2 separate regions of the Homo sapiens genome follow, and region 1 is linked to region 2. Evidence: promoter capture Hi-C in human tissues and cell types (Jung and others, 2019). All regions are on one chromosome and are shown on one strand. Each heading gives the region's core, a stretch centred on a gene start or on the middle of the fragment in contact. The rest is flanking DNA. Distances are from core to core; before and after follow the strand shown.

What was found. The method cuts DNA at HindIII sites, captures the fragments that hold promoters and counts their contacts. A contact is called where the count stands out against the background at its distance.
Region 1: a contact is called between a fragment that was not itself captured here and the fragment with the promoter of ITGAE in region 2, in 1 of the 25 tissues and cell types used here (dorsolateral prefrontal cortex).

The regions. Positions count from the first base shown.
Region 1 is chr17:4,064,999-4,071,679 of GRCh38, reverse strand. It overlaps ZZEF1 (zinc finger ZZ-type and EF-hand domain containing 1), which reads left to right. Exons shown (of 55, transcript NM_015113.4): 26 at 756-996; 27 at 4,438-4,517; 28 at 5,140-5,233. Among named protein-coding and RNA genes, the nearest start is that of ZZEF1, 75 kb to the left of the region's middle. The HindIII fragment of the contact is 6,989 bases long and covers 1,415-6,681 here.
Region 2 is chr17:3,799,119-3,806,065 of GRCh38, reverse strand. ITGAE (integrin subunit alpha E) reads left to right here and starts at 4,878. Exons shown (of 31, transcript NM_002208.5): 1 at 4,878-4,955. The coding sequence starts at 4,922. NCBP3 (nuclear cap binding subunit 3) reads left to right here. Exons shown (of 13, transcript NM_001114118.3): 13 at 1-3,908. The HindIII fragment of the contact is 9,203 bases long and covers 326-6,947 here.

The sequences.
Region 1 (6,681 bases), core at 3,660-6,159, 270 kb before region 2:
CCTAGCATCCCCTGTCCTCACCTGTCTCCCCATTCCTGTCCAGTCAGCTTGCAGGTCCTGTGGATTCTTCCTCATGATGTTCATCTCTGTCCTTTCCTCTGTCTGCATCTTTATCCGGGCCCTCATTTGCACCTGCCTTATGACATTCGTACCTACCAAGTTTTTTTTATAATCACTGCATTATCTTGTCATTCCACTGCCAAGCACCATTAATGGCTCCCCATTGCCCACAGGGTGAAGTCTAACTCCTCAATGTGACAGTCAAGGCTCTCTGCAGTCTCCTTTCACCTTACCTATCTGACTCTAGTTCCCATCACTCCCCAGCTGAGACTTCAGGCCAGGTCAGTCTCCCCACTGACTCGTAACCTCTGCTAATGGTTATGTTCCTCAGAGCCAAATCTGCCAATCCTTCAGGGTCCAGGCCAAAGCCCATATCCTCCAGGAGGCTTTTCTTAATTACTTTAACCTACCAGGATCTCTCTCCTTTGAATTCTCAGCACTGGGTATCCCTTCTAGGCATTTGGCACTTGATAATCTTTTGCTTTACGGGAATGCTAGTTCTAATGCTTTTAATGTTTTATTTATGTTTATCTTTTTTTAACTCATATCTCTGTCTGGTCTTCCTAAAATAGATTTAAACTTCCGGAGAGTGTTCACTGTGTTTTATACTTCTGCTTTGGCCTAATAGTTTGCTCAATAAATTTTATTTTTTGAATGAATGTGTTAAATGTGATGGGTTTATTTTTTGTTTCCAGGTTAAGAACATTCCTGACGACCCCTGCCGCCATTTTCTTCTTGATTTTGCCCAGTCAGAGCCTGCTCAGAACTTCTGTGGGCCATATTCAGAACTTTTCAAAGGATTCATACAGGCATGTAGAAAACAGGCCCCAAAGACAGATATAGTTGCTGGTTCCACTATTGATCAAGCTGTGAACGCCACCTTTGCTGCTCTGGTGTATCGCACTCCAGATTTATATGAGAAGCTGCAAAAATATGGTAACTTTATTACAGGGAATATTTTTGATCTGAAGGCTAATTGCTAAGTTTTAAGAAAGCCTATCTTAAGTGAACATTTAAAATATTTTAAAATATAAACACATTTCTATAACTGTAAACATCATCTTGTTGGTTCTACTTTGCCTATTAAAAGATTCATGGCCACTTTATGGTTAGCAGATTATAATGTGTGGCACCTAACCTTGAGTTGCAAAATTAGCAGGTAAATTATCTTTATCCAGAATTCTCATGGAAAACTGCTGAGAAATTTAATGGAAAGAAACCTTAACTTGGGTCCTGGTCCCAGTGCAAAAACTCAAAAGTTGTGCAGCTTCAGGTTAATCAGACGACCTTTCTGCACCTCAGTTTCTTTATCTGTAAAATTGGTTTAAGGGTGATTCGCTCTAACATTCTAAGAAATTCCAATTAAAACCACAGATGTTTAAGTTCTTGAATGTAGTAATAACCAAGGAGGAAGCTGTAGGTATTAACTATTACCTTTAGCTAGCTTGCAGCGCCTTCGTAGCATCACCCCACTAGGCTTCCTTTGCTGATAACCTTCTCCTCACCATCTCTTTTCCTCATGTCTCTTAGGGATGCCATCTCTGTATTTACCCTGCTTCCCTGCCGCCTAGCAGGACCCACACGGAGGGAGAGTCTCTCTCTACCTTCATACTAATTCAGGGGAAAAGTGTTTCAAGCCCTACCTAGAGATAAGGCATGGGCTTCCTAACCGCCTGGCAGGGTATGTCTTCTCCACGCAGCGCAGGCGGGAGAAGCAAAAACAGAGCTTCCTTCCACTAGAGTGGGTAATTGACTGTTGCTCATTTTGTTTTGTTTTGTTTTACTTTTTGAGACGGAGTCTCACTCTGTCACCCAGCCTGGAGTGCAGTGGCGCGATCTTGACTCACCACAACCTCCACCTCCCGGGTTCAAGCGATTCTCCTTCCTCAGCCCCCCGAGTAGCTGGGATTACAGGCACCCATCAACACGCCCGGCTAATGTTTGTATTTTTAGTAGAGACGGGGTTTCGCCCTGTTGGCCAGGCTGGTCTTGAACTCCTGACCTCAGGTGATCTGCCTGCCTCAGCCTCCCAAAGTGCTGGGATTACAGACGTGAGTACCGCGCCCAGCCTCGTTTTGTTATTATTGATATTTTTATTCCTACCACCTTTATTGCTCATTTCTTTGGATCTCACATTGCAGAATTTATTTTCTGATTGTTAAAACATCTTGATTACATCCCCAAATCTTAATATCTCCTTTAAAAAGCTGCTCAAATAAACAAAACTGTGTTGAGACATGAGTGATTTATGGAAACAAATGTCATATGGAAGAGTTTTTCTCTGCTGAGGAATCGAGGGGGTGATGTAACCTGTATGGTTTTGGCGGGGGGAATGTCAATATGTATTTTTGTAATCAAATTATAGTAAGAAAGCTGGATAATCTTTTTACTTGAAGGAATTTTCAGTAGAGGGATAAAAGCCTGTGGGTTAAAAGCTGAGAAATGGAAGGCTTCCTGCTGTGGGAAACTTCAGGCTGTGTTCAGATACCACATACCTGTTTGCAGAAGAGAAAACACACAGTCAACTGTGGGAACTCTACAACTGTGGGAACTCGGAATGTCTTGCTGTGTGCAGGTTGTTTCTAGAATGCCTGCCATTATTGGTTTGAAGGAGGCCAGGCTTGTCTTAGTTCTTTCTGTCTCTGCCTTTGTGATATAGATATTGATATAGATATTATATGTCTAAGGACTATTTCTGAGTTAAGACTGAACTACTTTGAGAATGGTCTTTGTCTAGCAAATTTGCTCATCTTTGTCTAAAAATTAGTCACTCTTTGGGGTTAGAAAGGGTGGGGAGGAGTTTTTCAACTTGAATATAAGCTGCTTGAGGGCAGGAACTTTGTTTTTCTCAGCATAATATTCCCAGTGTCTGGTACAGCCCTGGCGTATTCCAGGGCTTCAGGAATTACTTACTGCATTGTAACATAGATGCAAAAGAGAGCTTCATGCTGTTCTAGTATATTATCCTTTGGGTTTTAGCTGAAGAGAAGGGGCAAGCCTCATAGATCTTTCTTTAAAAATTTTTTTTGTTAGGCTGGGTGCAGTGGCTTTACGCCTGTAATCCCAGCACTTTGGGAGGCCAAGGCAGGTGGATCACCAGAGGTCAGGAGTTTGAGACCAGCCTGGCCAATATGATGAAACCCTGTCACTACTAAAAATACAAAAATTTGCCAGGTGTGGTGGCAGGTGCCTGTAATTCCAGCTACTCGGGAGGCTGAGACAGGAGAATTGCTTGAATTGCTTGAACCCGGGAGGCAGAGGGTGCAGTGAGCCAAGATCGCGCCATTGCACTCTAGTCTGGGAAATGAGCAAAACTCTGTCTCAAAAAAAATTGTTATTTTTCTAATTATAAACAAAACCTGTTTATGTAGCAACCTAAGTATAGAAAAGCTTAAAATAATTATCAGCTACAGTCTCACCACTTAGAACCTTTATGAATGTTTTTCTATTTACCTGGACTTTATGTAGGTATATTCATATGTATGTATATTTGTATATATATATGTGTATCCATACACATTTTATTTTTTTGTTTGTTTTTAGAGACAGGGTCTTGCTCTGTTGCCTAGGCTAGAGTGCAGGGGCACAGTTGTAGCTCACTGTAACCTTGAATTCCTGGTCTCAAGTGATCTTCCTACCTCAGCCTCCCTAGTAGCTAGGACTACAGGTGCATGCCGGTGTGCCTGGACAATTTTTTATTTTTTGTAGAGACAGAGTCTTGCTATGTTGCCTAGGTTGGTCTCGAGCTCCTGGCCTCAAGCAATCTACCTTCAGTCTCCCAAAGCACTGGGATTGGAGTTTGAGGCTGCAGGGAGCTATGATGGTGCCACTGCACTCCAGCCTGGGTGATAGAGTAAGACCCTATCTCTTAAAAAAATTTAAACAATAAGAATAATAAAAATAAAAAGTGCTGGGATTATAAGCATGAGCTGCTGCACTTGGCTTCCATGTTTTAAATATATAAACTCTCTTTAAATAAGATCATTTTATTTATACTGTTTCATAACCTGCTTTTTTACTTAATATACCATGAACTTTCTTCCATATCAATAAATACTTTTTTACTCACTGTTAATATTCTAAAATTTTTACTTTTAGTATTTTTATATCTTTTAATATTTTACACACTTTTAAAATTATTTCCATTTTAGAAATTATTAGTTTGAAAAAAGTTAGTTTGAAATAACACAGGAACCCACACAGGTATTTGTGGCTTAATTGAATATTTTTTTCCCTGAGTCTCTCTTACCATCCTCAATGTGTGATTGTCAGGAGGACTTTTCCTGTACTTCAGCAGATTTAGATTTTTTGTGCTTAATGTTGCAGTAGTGAATTGTGTTACCTGAATGTAATCTCCATCTCTGCTTCTCTCCCCAGTCAACAGTGGGGGCAAAATAGCCCTGAGTGAAGAGTTTGCCCAGGTTTATTCCTTGGCAGATGGGATTCGAATATGGATGGTAAGATTTTCTTTGCATGTGATTTTGCTATATTTTAGGTTTTCTACCGTGATATCATGGAATTAAGATGAATTGTTCTCTTCTCAAGAATATAGCTTTAGGATTTTTGTTAAGCTAAAGTTTAGTGACATGAATAGATATAAAACAATTTAGAACCCTTGAAATTATAGTCTGGACAGTTGAAAATAGAGGAAACAGAATTTAGTTGACCCCTCTTTACATCCCTTCGTGGAACTCCGTAGAGTTGGCGGAACAGCATCGCTTTAGATACTAGGTAACCATGGCCAGTTTTAGGTCTCAGCATCACGTAGAGATGTCCCCTCTGAAATTTTGGTTCAATCTGCAGCAGACTGGGTTTATGACCCTAGTAAGACTCTTCATTTCTCTAGATCTCAGCTTCTTCTTTATCAGTACTAGATAGGCTTTAGAGAAAGCCCCCTGCAGCACCAGTGTTCTAGAAATTTTTAAGTAATAAGGTTGTGAGTATTACAAACCCCTCTAAATGATACAACTGTGAAGTACTCTGTGGTGTCAGTGCTGTGTGCTTTTGAAGTAGTTTGCCATGGCTGTCCTTGCTTCCCTGCCTGGACAGCATAATGATGTGGCTCAAATTCTCCCCTAGTTAGAGATGAAGCAGAAGTCCCTGATGAGCCTGGGGAATGAAGCAGAAGAAAAACATAGTTCAGAAGCTACTGAGGTGAACCCTGAGAGCCTGGGTGAGTGTGCTAACACCAGCTGTTGTCCCTGAGCCTTCTGTTTTCGTTTTAGAGCCTGGAAAACCAATTACTCACCTTCTAGATTATCTTAATTGAGGCTGTGTTGACCTAGGGAAAGTAACACAGATGCTAAATATAGTATCCAAGGATGTATCATAAATAGAGAAAATCCCAAAGAGGAGTAATGTTTTATTGGCCTGCTCCAAATGGAACATCTTTCTAATCACTTCTCTTAGGCGGCATCAGGTGCTTTTTGAGCTACATCTTTTTTCTTTTTTGAGATGGGGTCTCGTTCTGTCTCCCAGGCTGGAGTGCAGTGGTTCAGTCATATAGCTCACTGCAGCCTCCCACTCCTGGGCTCAAGCAATCTTCCCGCCTTAGCCTACCGGGTAGCTGGGACATCAAGCAGGTGCCACAACACCTGGCAAATTTTTTTTTCCTCTTTGTATCGCCTGTGTTAAGCAATTAAAAACTTTTTTTTAGAGAAGGGGTCTCACTGTGTTGCCCAGGCTGGTGTCAGATTCCTGGCCTCAAGTGATCCTCCCACCTCAGCCTCCCAAAGTGCTGGGATTATAGGCATGAGCCACTGCACCTGGCCTTGTTATGATTTTAAAGTGTGCTCACACTGAATATTCAGTGAAATAAAAGAATTACTATTATTTTTTAAATATTATGGTTGTTATTTTTTAAAACTCATATATTTTTAAGAGAAATATGCTAAAAATTTTTACAGATAAAATAGTGTGGTGCTGGAATGTGTGTGGAAGTAATCCGGGGAGTGAGGGGTTGATGGGGGTGAAACAAGATTGGCCGTGAGTTAATAATGACGGAAGCTGAGTGACAGGTACATGGAAGGGTCCTTATGGTATTTTCTCTATATACATGTTTGAAAACATCTACAATAAAACTTTTTCTAAAAAGTGTGCTGATAGTACTGGCGAGATTTTGATTTCTATAATGAGATAAAATTTGATTCTGTTCTTCTATTCTGTCAGTAAATATGTGTATCACTTTTTCGTTTTTTGGTTTTTTTGTTTGTTTTTTTTTTTGGAGACAGTGTCTCACTCTTTCGCCCAAGCTGGAATGCAGTGGCATGATCTCGGCTCACTGCAGCTTCAACTTCTCAGACTCAAGCAATCCTTCAGCCTCAGCCTCCCAAGTAGATAAGATTATAGGCGTGTGCCACCATGTCTGGTTAATTTATTGTTTTTTTATAGAGATTGGGTTTCACCATGTTACCCAAGCTGAGGTATCACCCCAAGTGATCCTCCTGCCTTGGCCTCCCAAAGTGCTGGGATTACAGGCGTGAGCCACCACACTAGGCCTATATCACTTTATTCATGAAGCTGTCTCTTGCCCTAAATTGTGACATTTAACTTATTTTCTCTACAGAAGTAGGCAATAAATTTAAACTTTTTTTTTTAACTTTAAATTCTAGGGTACATGTG
Region 2 (6,947 bases), core at 3,629-6,128:
TCCCTTCCTAGGAGTTTTGTGGTAGTGTTCGATCCTGTGATGTGGCCATCTTCTCCTCAGGGCCTGTGAGAGGCAGGCAGCATCTTTAGCTGAGGTAGAATGCCTGTTGGGGAAAGTCAAATAGGATGGTGGCTGGGGCCGGGGCTCTGGGGACTCCTTCTGCCCCACATACTCAATTGGAAAGACTGAGCAAGTCCCCTCACCTCCCTGGGCCTCAGCTTCCCTGTCTGTCAAATGGAGGGCTCAACTGGGGTGAGCTCCAGTTTCCTTCTAGTGCTAACGCGTGTTCAAGGATCCTTGCTCTCCTTTCCGGGGAGCATCAGGGGTGTGGGCTAGATAGCAGGAAAGAAGTAGGGGTTTGTAAACAAGAGATCCAAGCCCCTGGACCCTTGGTCCCAGCACCCAGTGCAGCCCTCGCCCTCCCAGCCCCTTCCTTAGAAAGGACAAGAAAATCCACTCCTTGTTCTCTCCCTGTCCCATCACCCCCGCAGTCCCCCACAGATCTGAGGCCGGAGGATGCCAACATGGTGAGCACCCTCTTGCTGTCTTATTCACGTAGGCTTTTCTTGGTGCCTGCACATGGCTCTTGTAAGGCCACCAATCTTGCTGGATTATGACCTCATCTAACCTTAATTACTTCCTAAAAGCCATATGTCCAAGAAGAGCCACATTGGGGGTTAGGGCTTCAACATATGAATTTGGAGGACATTTACAGTTCAGTCCACAGCACCTGGTCATGTGGAGATCCCAGTCTGCATTTGTGGGATGAAATCTCTGCTTTTTTAAAGTTTACACACCACCTAGCTGGGCACGTGGCTCACACCTGTAGTCTCAGCACTTTGGGAGGCCGAGGCGGGGATCACCTGATGTCAGGAGTTCGAGACCAGCCTGGCCAACATGGTGAAACCCCGTCTCTACTAAAAATACAAAAATTAGCCGGGTGTGGTGGCGGGCACCTGTAGTCCCAGCTACTCGGGAGGCTGAGGCAGGAGAATCGCTTGAACCCAGGAGGCAGAGGTTGCAGTAAGCTGAGATTGTGCCACTGCACTCCAGTCTGGATGAAAGAGCAAGACTCCATCTCAAAAACAAAAATAAAAAAAGTCTACACACCAAAAGAGCTGAAGGCAGGAGAGTTTGTGGTGGTTCAGAGTCCTGATTCTGGAGGAAACAGGCCTGTTTGGAGTCCCAGCTCTGCTCCTTACTAGCTATGTGGCCTCTCAGAGGCAGCATCCTTATCTGAGAAATCGGGTTGACCTTGTAGGTGGCTGAGAGGCTCAGATGAGGGCTCGCATGTGAGGCCTTGGCACTGAGCAGGGCACTCCTACCGAGTGTTCAAAGGTCGTGAGTACCACTGCTCTGCAGCCCTGGGCTCTGGTCTCAGCAATGCCGTCACTCTTTCTGGCTTCCTAAGAGTCAGAAGGCAAGTGGGAGAATAGAACCATTTCCTGTGTCTGAAGGCTGTGCCTCAGTGCTTTTGACTCACTCTGAAGACAGCAGGCAGCCCTTTCTGTTTTTTTTGGAGATGAAGTCTTGCTCTTGTCGCCCAGGCTGGAGTGCAATGGCGCAGTCTCGGCTCACTGCACCCTCCGCCTCCCAGGTTCAAGCAATTCTCCCACCATAGCCTCCCGAAGCTGGGGCTACAGGCACACGCTGCCACGCCTGGCTAATTTTTTGTGTTTTTAGTAAAGACAGGGTTTCACCATGTTGCCCAGGCTGGTCTCAAACTCCTGAACTCAGGCGATCCGCCTACCTCGGCTTCCCAAAGTGCTGGGATTACAGGTGTCAGCTACCACGCCCGACCCACAGGCAGCCCTTTCACCTCACGCCGAGCACGTCTCCTCCATCCATGAACATTTTGCAACTTTTTTTTAAAGAGACAGGTTCATACTATGTTGTCTAGATTGGACTCAAACTCCTGGGCTCAAGCTTTCCCAAGTAGCTTGAACCTCTTAAGTAACTGTGACTACAAGTGCACCTGGCCACTTTTTCTGAGACGGAGTCTCGCTCTGTCACCCAAGTGGAGTGCAGTGGCATGATCTCCGCCCACTGCGAGCTCCGCCTCCTGGGTTCACGCCATTCTCCTGCCTCACCCTCCTGAGTAGCTGGGACTACAGGCACCCGCCACCACGCCTGGCTAATTTTTTTTGTATTTTTAGTAGAGACCGGGTTTCACCGTGTTAGCCAGGATGGTCTCGATCTCCTGACTTTGTGATCCGCCCGCCTCGGCCTCCCAAAGTGCTGGGATTACAGGCGTGAGCCACCGCGCCTGGCCCACCTGCCCATTTTTTAAAAACTTTATTCTTCCTGGTATCAAGGGGAGAAAGAAAAAAATTTTTTAAAATATTTAAAACTTTATTTTGAAATAATTTCAAAATCACAGCAGTTTGAAGGGTACAACAAAGAACATTTTGCCACATTTTCTCTTTCATTCGTTCCCTCCTCTTCTCCCTCACCCCTGTTTCTTCCTATCCTCTCTGAACCATGAACCATTTGAGGATTATTTGTATACATCATGCTCGTTTATCCGTAAGATGTTTTAGTGAACATTTCCCAAGAACAGGGACAGCCTCTCACATGCCCATGGTACAGTTCTCAAATTCAGGAAATGTGTAATATTCTCTGATCAGCCCAGGAGTTGCTAATTTGTAGTTCCTGTTTCAAATTTGCCAACTGTCCCAATAATGATTTTGAAAGCCGTTGTTTTTCTGGTCCAGGATCCAATCCAGGATCAAGCGCTGCCTTTAGTTGTCCTCTCTGCAGCCTCCTTTCGTTTGGAGCAGGTCCTCAGCCTTTCTGTCTTTCATGACATTGATGTTTGTGAAGAGTACAGTCCAGTTTCTGTTGTAGAACGTCCTTGAAGTTGGTCCCGGAATATTTGTTTAAAGTGAGTTGGGAAACCACATTCACATGTCTTTTGGTTATGTGTGTATTTGTCAAACAGCCAGCCTTGTGCTGCGTGCTGTGATGGGGAGCATTACTCAACAGAGCCTGGCCCTGACCTTGGGGATGTAGTTTGGGTTTGTGGGGAAAGCAGCTACCGCCAGGTGGGCTTTACGGACCCCTGTGTGTCTCATGACTAGAGGCACTGACGCTTGGATAAATACATACTGGATGGATGCAGGATGAGTCCGCATTCTAGAAGTGTGCAGAGGTACAGAAGTGGCCCTGCTCCCTGTCCAGCACCCAGTCATCAGCTTTCCCTGGCTTCCCGAGGCACCCTGACGTTCACACTCCAAACACAAAGTCTTCTCTCAGGAATCTCGAGTGAGCTGCAGTCTGGGTTCTAGCCCTGCCCTAGCAGGGATCTGCTCAGTGACTGGGCTGCTCTCTTCCTGCTTTAGGCCAATGCGGGGGAGAGGAGACCACTGTGACTCTCCCCAGTGCCCTTGGAGCGCAGAATGAAGTGAGGGGAGGAGGAGGGTCACGAGCCCTGGAGCGCTGGGAAGACAGGCTGTAGGCCGCAGGCCCCGATCCTGCCTGGGACGAGGTTCAACAGAAGTAGGATGGTTTCATCATGACCTGGCAGGAAAACCACCAGACCTGGAATTTTGCTTTTACAACTGTTTAACTTCTGTTTCATACAGGATGGAAACCGGTGAATTGTAATCTCACATAACCGAGCAAGATCTAGTAGTCATAAGCACTTTGTCAGAGCAAAGCAGACAAGGCAAAGTGTTGGAAATGTCATCGGATCTTCACAGAACCTTAGCCAAGCAGCCTTTCAATGCGAGAAACAAAATAACATGGATTTTTATCTAGTAATGAAGTCAACACCATTGTCCACCCTGGGTTAACACATTCACATCTCAAAGCGAATGGGGCTGCAGACACTCGTGTTAGAGAGCCTTGGAATGTCCTGCCTTTTTACGTTTAATTAAAATTAAATAAAATATACAAAATTCAGTTCATCAGTTGTTCTAGTGGCATTTTAAGGGTTTAGTACCATATGTGGCTCATGAGTACCATCCTGGACAGCGTCGACCTAGAGCAGTTCCATCCCCGCGCAGAGTTCTGTTTGACGGCGCCACTCTGCACTTCCAGCAGCCTGGGGAGCAGGGGTGCAGGAGAGTTCCTTCTGTGTCACAGACTTGGTCACACAGTACAGATCTCAGATCAGCACTTAAACACGACTGCCAGCTGTCAACGGCGTGTTCTGTGGAATGCTGGGATGCATCACAGGTATGCTGGAAGATGTATAGAATTTTACTTCTGTTATTCTGGTAACTCAGAGTCCTGTTCAGTCAGTTTCCACGTCAGGTTGCTGTCCTGGTTTTAAAGAGAATGAACGCAGCCGAAGTTGAATCGAGGCAGTGATTTCACTCAGTGCGTTGGGTCTTTCCACTCACCTGGCCCTCCAGAACCCCAGGGCCTTGAGTGCATGGGCTGGTACAAGAGCCCAGTTTTTGGCTGGGGAGGCACTTCCTATGGGAGGGGGACGCCTGTCTCAGTGCTGAGGCAACCACCACCGAGGACCCTGGGCTGGAAGCTGGGCTGAGATGTCTGGTGGTAGGTTCTGAGGCAGGACAGGGGACCGACTCAAATGGATGATACGAACGGCAGGCTGGATTCACGTTGCTCCTGCACCTCCAGCATCTGCTGAGGACACCTAGAACTGTGGCCCTGGCCAAACCTCAGCTCCCTATTCCATGAAAGTGTGGGTCAAAGTGTGGGTGGTAGAGTGGGGCTGACAGTGGCCCCTAAGCTCCTAGGGTCCAGCCCACAACTGAGGAAGCCACACGGCTGGTTGTGTACGAGCCGGAGTGTCTCTGTTTGGTTGAAAGTGCCGGTCTGTGGGTCCTTGCTGGTGTGTGTGCTTCTGTCCCCGCCTCCTGGCCTCCTGGCTGAGGGGAAGCTGAGTGGGCCACGGCCCATGTGTCGCACTCGCCTCGGCTCCCACACAGCCGCCTCTGCTCCAGCAAGGATGTGGCTCTTCCACACTCTGCTCTGCATAGCCAGTAAGTCCTCTCACCCGCTGCTTCGAGGGGCTGCTGTGCCCTCAGCTCCAGCCAGGTGTCTGCAGACTACAGCCTTGACTGTCTGTCTCTGATGGGGCTCAGTTAGAGCCAGAGGTTAGAGAGTGGCAGCTCCTCCAGGAAAGGAGTCTTGCTCGGTGGGTCAGGGCCCCAGGCTTGTTGGGAAGGGCGGCTGAGGCTTCGTGTTGCCAGTTCTGTCAGCCAGGGCCTTTGGACTCCAGGGCTCTGCCATTCTGTTCCTCCTCCAGCCAGCCTCCCCCCGCCACCGAGGCCCTCTCCCCATGGCACCCACTTGGGGCAGGTCCTTGACTCTGTAGTTTGTTCTCTGAGTGTGGAGGCTCCGCCTGGCAGAGCTCCCTTCTGTTACAGAGCAGGGGTTGGGCTGATGAGGGTGAGGACCCTGTGAGAGAGTGTTGACCAGAGACTGGGGGCAAGTGTCTGTATGGTAGAGGGTGTGAGTGTTGGCAGGGAGCCTGCTTCCTGTGTTGTCAGGCCCAGGGTAAAAACTGGAATGTGGGGTGGGGGGAGGCACTTCTGCTGCCTGGGGGGTCCCATTTTAGCCTTTAACTGTCCCATGGAAGCCTCTGGGCAAGCCAAGCCATGAGTCCTTTCGGGGGCCCCCTGTGATGAGACAGCACGGTCAGGTGAGCCCCTGGAGGCTGCTAAGATTAAGCCGGAGGCCAGGGTGGTCCTGCCTAGTGATCTGAGCAGACTTCCCATGGGTCTCCTGCCCCTGCTCAGGAGGTTGGCCGGAGAATTGGATGGGCATCAAGCTTATGTGGATGAAAGGCTCCTGGTAGCTGAGTTCTCCCTGAAAGATGGGCTGAGGCTGTGCTGGGAGGGGACTTGGGATTAGCATCCCACCTGGGGCCAGATCACCCAGGAAGCAGGCCACAATGTGTAGGGTACCAGCAAGGAACACGTTTTTGGACAGATTTTAATATTTTATATTTCATTTTATTTTATTTTATTTTTTGAGACAGAGTCTTGCTCTGCTGCCCAGGCTGGAGCCCAGGCTGGATCTTGGCTCACCATAACTTCTGCCTCCCAGGTTCAAGCAGTTCTCCTGCCTCAGCCTCCCGAGTAGCTGGGATTACAGGCGCCTGCCACCACGCCTGGCTAATTTTTGTATTTTTAGTAGAGACAGGGTCTCACCATATTGGTCAGGCTGGTCTCCTGCCCTCAGGTGATCGACCTGCCTCGGCCTCCCAAAGTGTTGGGACTACAGGCATGAGCCACCTTGCCCGGCCTAATATTTTATATTTCAAAAACATCAGAATAGTCACCATGGAAAGGTCAACAGTTTGTTGAACTTCCTTTTATTTTACAATTTAGACTTCTCTGTTTTTAGTTACATGTGGGGTGTGGAGAGAGTCTCACTCTTTTTATGGCTTGTGGCTTTGATCTCCCATTACCAAGAATATCTGGAGCAGATGCTTAGACTAGACTCTTGTCTACCCTCTCCCAGTACAGAGGAGGTGACTGGGGCACAGAGCGGGCAGTGACTACCCAGGCTTGCAAGCAACTGATAATAGACACGAGGCTCAAGCCCAGGCCTCTGTCCTGCCTCCCAGCTCCAGAATACTCCTGTGGCTCATCTGTCTCCTTTAGCCTCTGAGACCACCACCCATCACCTCAGTGCCTTTTCCAGCAGGTGGCATCGATCAAACCTCTTTTGAGGCCTAGGCCCTTCCCAAGCTGATGGGCAGCAGAGAGCGATGATGGAGCAGACTTGCCATGAGACCACTTAGCCCACAGCTCAGCTCAGCCACGGGAAGGGGACCAGAGCAGGGCCCCCGCAGCTCCGGTGTGGGTGGCGGAAACGAGGCTGCTGCAGTTCTGCTCCATGCTGTGAGGTCCTGAGACTAGGATGGGCCAGTCCAGGAGAGTTTCCTGGAGGAGGTGAGGTGGCGTTGAGTCTTGGGGGCTGAGGAGAGTCTGAGAAAGAAAATGTCCAGGAGATGCTGGGAGGAA